Linked DNA regions of Homo sapiens: region 1 is linked to region 2. Evidence: promoter capture Hi-C in human tissues and cell types (Jung and others, 2019). All regions are on one chromosome and are shown on one strand. The core of a region is centred on a gene start or on the middle of the fragment in contact, and the rest is flanking DNA. Distances in the headings are between cores, read along the strand shown. Region 1 has its middle 9.3 kb from the start of NECTIN2. Region 2 holds the start of KLC3 (kinesin light chain 3).

Region 1 (3,067 bases), core at 204-2,703, 500 kb before region 2:
GTGCGAGAGAGGTTTGGGGCCCAGGTGGGCAGCCCACCCAGCTGACCCCACCAGGTGGGCATGATATCATGATATCAAATATGCTAAATTTGTGTCTGTGTACATCATGTTCTGGCCCCAGGGAAATGAGCACTTTGCTGGTGAGGTTGGTGACATTTTGTTTACCATCTATGCCTGAGGAGGAAAGACTGGAGGAAAGAAAGACCTAAGAGGCCAGTTTATATTCACAAACATGGAAGTCAAGCCTGTTCCACCTTTCCAATGCAATAGAGCACCTACTGGGAAAGCCATGCCTGGCCAGCCCCTGGCAAAACACACCTGAGGATTCATTCCTCCATTCACGCAATCATACCTTCAAGAAAAGTTCAGAGGGCGTGGTGGCTCGCGCCTGTAATCCCAACAGTTTGGGAAGCCAAGGCTGGCTGATCACCTGAGGTCAAGAGTTCGAGACCAGCCTGGCTAACATGGTGAAACCCCATCTCTACTAAAAATACAAAAATTAGCCTGGCATTGTGGTGCATGCCTGTAGTCACAGCTACTCGGGAGGCTGAGGCAGGAGAATCACTTGAAACTTGGAGGCGGAGGTTGCAGTGAGCTGAGATCGAGTCACTACACTCCAGCCTGGGTAACAGAGCGAGACTCCGTCTCAAAAAAATAAAAAGTGTATTGAGTGTTTACTGTGTGCCAGGCACTGGGGAGACATCAATGAACAAACTTCACAACCCACCAGGCACAGTGGCTCACGCCTGTAATCCCAGCACTTTGGGAGCTCAAGGCGGGAAAATCACTTGAGGTCAGGAATTCAAGACCAGCCTGGGCAACACAGCAAGATCCCATCTCTACAAAAAAATTTTTAAATTAGCCAAACATGGTGGCACACACCTGCAGTCCCCACTACTCAGAGTGGGAGGATCGCTCAAGTCCAGAAAGTCAAAGCTGCAGCGAGCTATGATGGCATTACTGTACTCCAGGCTGGGAGACAGAGCAAGATCCTGTCTCCAAGACATAATAATAATAATAATAATTCACATCCTAATGGTGTTGCTGGACTCCAGTGGGGAAAGTGGTCAGTGGAATTCCTTAGAAGGTCCACAGACCTAGGAAGAGACTTCAGGAACTGCAACCAATCCCTGACTCTCTAGGGCCTGAGGAGGCACTTGGATGGGAACACCCTCCACCTCCCAAGAGAAGCAGTTGACTCCTCCACGAGGAAGCACTGGACAGCCAGGAGGTGCCTCTTGTTAACCAAAGTGGGCTGTTGACCTTGAACTCCAGCTCAGAGATCTTGTCCCTGGTCTTGTTCTCAAGACTCATCAGGTTCTCTCTTTCTCTGGACATGGAATCTAGATCTTCAATTTTGAAGCCAAATCTATGGGAGTAAAACAAAGAGATTTGATTAAAACAAAAGATGTTGTGCAAAACTCAAAAAATAAAACAGGCTGGGCGCTGTGGCTCAGGCCTGTAATCCCAGCACTTTGGAAGGCCAAGGCAGGAGGATCACTTGAGCCCAGGAGTTCGAGACCAGCCCTGGCAACAAACAGAGACTCTGTCTCTACAAAAAATGCAAAAATTAGCCTGATGTGGCGGTACACGCCTGTAGTCCCAGCTACTCGGGAGGCTGAGGTAGGGGGATCCCTTGAGCCTGGGAGGCTGAGGCTGCAGTGAGCCGTGATCCAGCCACTGCATTCCAGCCAGGGCAACAGAGCGAGATCCTGTCTCAAAAAATAAAATAACAGTAGTCCCAGCACTTTGGGAGGTCGAGGCAAGCAGATCACTTGAGGTCAGGAGTTCTCAACCAGCCTGGCCAACATGGTGAAACCCCATCTCTACTAAAAATACAAAAATTAGCCAGGGGTAGGGGGGCACACCTGTAATGCTAGCTACTGGGGATGCTGAGGCATGAGAATCACTTGAACCCGGGAGGCGGAGTTTGCAGTGAGCCAAGATCACGCCACTGCACTCCAGCCTGGGCAACAGGGCGAGACTCCGTCTCAAAACAACAACAAAAATAAACATGAGAAGCTAGATGACTGTAGCTGGCTGATCACCTGCTTGGCAGCCACAGCTTTTACCTGTGTCTTGGGCTTGGGACTCATGGAGCAGAGTGGGTGTCGCCCACAGGACGCATGAATGCTTGGAGCTTACTGGATCCCTGCATCCCTCCCATCTGTGTTCAGCTCACATTCTTAGTATGTCTAACAGGTCTCATGAGTTGCTTTTTTTTTTTTTTTGAGACGGAGTCTTGCTCAGTTGCCCAGGCTGGAGTGCAGTGGCGCGATCTCAGCTCACTGCAACCTCCGCCTCCCGGGTTCAACTGATTCTCCTGCCTCAGCCTTCCGAGTAGCTGGGATTACCGGCGGGTGCCACCACGCCTGGCTAATTTTTTGTATTTTTAGTAGAGACAAGATTTCACCGTGTTCGCCAGGATGGTCTCGATCTCCTGACCTCATGATCCGCCTGCCTCAGCCTCCCAAAGTGCTGGGATTACAGGTGTGAGCCACCACGCCCGGCTTGAGTTGCTTCTTAATATCCATCCTTCATTTCACCTGTCTGTGTCCTTATTTATAGGGCTCTTGTTCCCTATATAACAGAATTGAAAATTCCCTTTAAAAAAATACAGCAAATGCACACAGAGGATCAGAGGATGGAGGGGAGAATTTGATGAGATAACCAGGGAAGTATTTAGTACAAAGCCTGGCACAGAGTCCATGTGCAGTACATGTTAATTATTGTGATTATCTAAGGAAAAATAAAGAGACACAGAGAAAAGCAAAAAGGTTGCCTTAGGCCAGGTGCGGTGGCTCACACCTGTAATCCCAGCACTTTGGGAGGCCGAGGCAGGCAGATCACCTGAAGTCATGAGTTCGAGACCAGCCTGGCCAACATGGTGAAACCTTGTCTCTACAAAAAAAAAAAGACAAAAATTAGCTGGGCATGGTGGCACGCGCCTGTAATCCCAGCTACTCAGGAGGCTGAGACACAAGGATCACTTGAACCCAGGAGGCGGAGGTGGCAGCGAGCCGAGATCACACCACTGCACTCCAGCCTGGGTGACAGGGCGACACTC
Region 2 (2,981 bases), core at 146-2,645:
GCTTATATAGTAGAGGAGAAAAAGTGAACCCATAATATACAGTCAGTAGCGAGTATTTACTAAGTACTTTCTATTTGCGAGGCCCTGATAAAAGTACTGTCCTGGCCAGGCGCGGTGGCTCACGCCTGTAATTCCAGCACTTTGGGAGGTCGAGGTGGGCAGATCACCTAAGGTCAGGAGTTCGAGATCAGCCTGGCTAACATGGGGAAACCCCGTCTCTACTAAAAATGGAAAAATTAGCTGGGCATGGTGGCGGGCGCCTGTAATCCCAGCTACTCGGGAGGCTGAGACAGGAGAATGACTTGAACCCAGGAGTTGCAGTGAGCCAAGATAAGATAGCGCCATTGTACTCCAGCCTGGGTAACACAGCGAGACTGTGTCTCAAAAAAAAAAAAAAAAAAAAAAAAGTACTGTCCCTGTATTAGTTAACATTCAATTCTCAAAGCCTTAGACTATTTATATTTTATTGACTAGGGAAACTGAGGCACAGAGAGGTTAAGTTACTTGCCCAAGGCCTGCACAGCAAGTAAGTGCCGGAATCAAATTTGAACCCTGAGCCCAATTCTTAGATATCACATTCCCTTGCCAATAACATAATATATAACATAACATAATGATGTGATATATGTTATATAAAATAACTTTAGGGGCCGGGGGCGGTGGCTCACTCCTGTAATCCCAGAACTTTGGGAGGCCGAGGCGGGAGGATCACTTGAGGTCAGGAGTTTGAGACCAGCCTGGCCGACATGGCGAAACCCCGTCTCTACTAGAAATATAAAAAGTAGCCGGGCGTGGTGGCAGACACTTGTAGTCGCAGCTACTCGGGAGACTGAGATGGGAGAATCGCTTGAACTTGGGAGGTGGAGGTTGCAGTGAGCCGAGATCGCGCTACTGCACTCCAGCCTGGGTGACGGAGCGAGACTCCCTCTCAATAAATAAATAAGGTAATTTTAGGCCCTGAAAAGTTTTGTGAACAAAATCAAGAGGAGTATGTAATGTTTTGGTGGAAGGGTGCCATTTAGAAGGGGGCAATCAGGGAAGGCCTGCCGGAGGAGGTGGCCTTTGAGAAGAGACCTAAAGACGATGAGATCTGTGGGAAGAGAGATCGAAGCAGGCCACACAACCAAGGAAAAGGCTCTGGGGCAGGCACTGCAAGAAAGCCACCTGTCTGGGATCTAAAGTTTCCAAAGTTTTAGCTTGGCCAAGGCCCCTGCGCTACAATCACCCTGATTCGAGGTGTCCTGGAGGTTACCAGTTCCGCGTGCGAAGTTCTGCCATTCCCGCGGGGCTGGAGCCCCGAGGCTGAACTTCCCACGGGCGGTGGGCGTGGCCGGCTCACCTGCGGGGGCGTGGCTCCCGGCTGCCCCGCCCCTCGGAGGAGCCGCCCGAGGTCCCAGACGCCCGGCGCAGCGGGAGCGGCGGGGCGTGCCTGGCCTGCGGGACGCGACTGATCGCAGTGGGGCGAAGCGGGGCCGGAGCCGCCCGCGGTCAGGTGGGTGCCGGGAGTGGGGCGCGGGACTCTCGGAGAGCCGCGATGATGGGGGGCGGGGGCAACCCTGGGCCCGCTCGCCCTGAGACGGGGAAGGGCCTTGGGGCTCCCGGATGCCCCCTGCCCCGTCCTGGGGCTCTCCGGGATCTGGAGGCCTGGCTGGGGTCCCATGCCCCCCACCCCAGCGCAGGTAAACAGCGAGGACGGGGCGGGGCCTGGGAGGGAGAGGGAGGGGGCCCTTGTGACTGCGGGTGAGCCTGGTGCGCGGGGCTGGGCAGGCCAGGGTAAGTTGGTGCGGCTTGCGGGGCTGGGCCACGATGGGAGTCTCCTGCCTGCCTGTGTTTGTGTGTGTGTGTGTGTGTGTGTGTGTGGCTTTGCGTGTGTGTAAGAGAGTGTGTCAGGCTGTGGGTATGAGGGTGAAAGCGACTGTCCGTGTAACCCTGTGATGGGACTGTGTGTATGATGTGACACTTTTAGCAATGTGAAAACGTGGGCGACCTCTGACTGGAATGGTGTGTGTGTAGAATTGGATTGCTGGTAGCACTTTACGACCAAGAGCTAGTGCGACTGTAGTCGACTTTCTGCTTGGCCTGATGTGCATGTGTGTGGCTGTGTGTGTGGCTGTCTTCATGGCAGAGAGTGGAACTGGTTGTAGGATTAGGTGTGATTGACCAAGAGGCTGTGCGGCTGTGGTTGTCTTTCTGCCTGTTGGTGTGTGTGTGTGTGTGTGTGTGTGCGCGCGCGCGTGTGGTGGACAGTGTGGCACTGGATCAGTGATAGGTGACTATGATTGACTTTTGATTGTGTGTCACTGTGATGGTGCATGGGGCTGGGCGGAACTGTGTCCAGAAGTGGAGCTGTTTCATGGGACGGTGCGCGTGGAACCTTGGGGTTGGATGAGTGAGGTGTGGAGGTGTGTGAAGCCGTGTGTGCGTGTGTGTGTGTGTGTGTGTGTGTGTAGAGAGGAACTAGAGGGTGTGTGATCTGCATTGATACCGTGGCTGGCAGTGGTGTGCAACGGAGAGTTTGTGGGAGATGGGAGTGGAGACGTGGACATTTAAGTGGGATGCTCCTCCAAGCGGGTGACAGGATGGAAAAGGGGGTCCGCGTCAGGGATCAGTGTGTGGGACTGTGCCTATGATTATCAGCTGTGCGGTTGTGCACCCGGGGCTCTGTGTGAGTGTGGGAGCTGCTGTGTGTCTGGGACACAGCCCGAGTGCTGGATGGCTGTGGTTGAGCCGTGTTTGTTGCTGTGGTTGTCAATCTGGCTGTGGAGTGGTGTGTGTAAGGCTGTGTCTGAGGTTATAGAGGGAGGTTTTACATCGGCAAAATTGTGTGAAGAATGGTTGTGGTTGTCAGGATGACTCTTGAACCTGTGTGGTTGTGAGTTCAACCATTTATGATGTTTGTGTGTGAGGTGTGAGAATAGGTATGGTGTGATATACACAAGCACACAGATTGGCCGGGTGCAGTGGCTCATACCTGTAATCTC

What was found. Contacts are between HindIII fragments. The study calls those that stand out against the background at their distance.
Region 1: a fragment that was not itself captured here is called in contact with the fragment with the promoter of KLC3 in region 2 in 2 of the 25 tissues and cell types used here (IMR-90 fibroblasts and lymphoblastoid cells).

What each region holds. Positions count from the first base shown.
Region 1 is chr19:44,835,440-44,838,506 of GRCh38, forward strand. No RefSeq gene overlaps it. Among named protein-coding and RNA genes, the nearest start is that of NECTIN2, 9.3 kb to the right of the region's middle. The HindIII fragment of the contact is 6,876 bases long and covers 1-3,067 here.
Region 2 is chr19:45,339,355-45,342,335 of GRCh38, forward strand. It overlaps KLC3 (kinesin light chain 3), which reads left to right and starts at 1,396. Exons shown (of 13, transcript NM_177417.3): 1 at 1,396-1,492. RefSeq lists a silencer at 1,292-1,381. The HindIII fragment of the contact is 10,588 bases long and covers 1-2,981 here.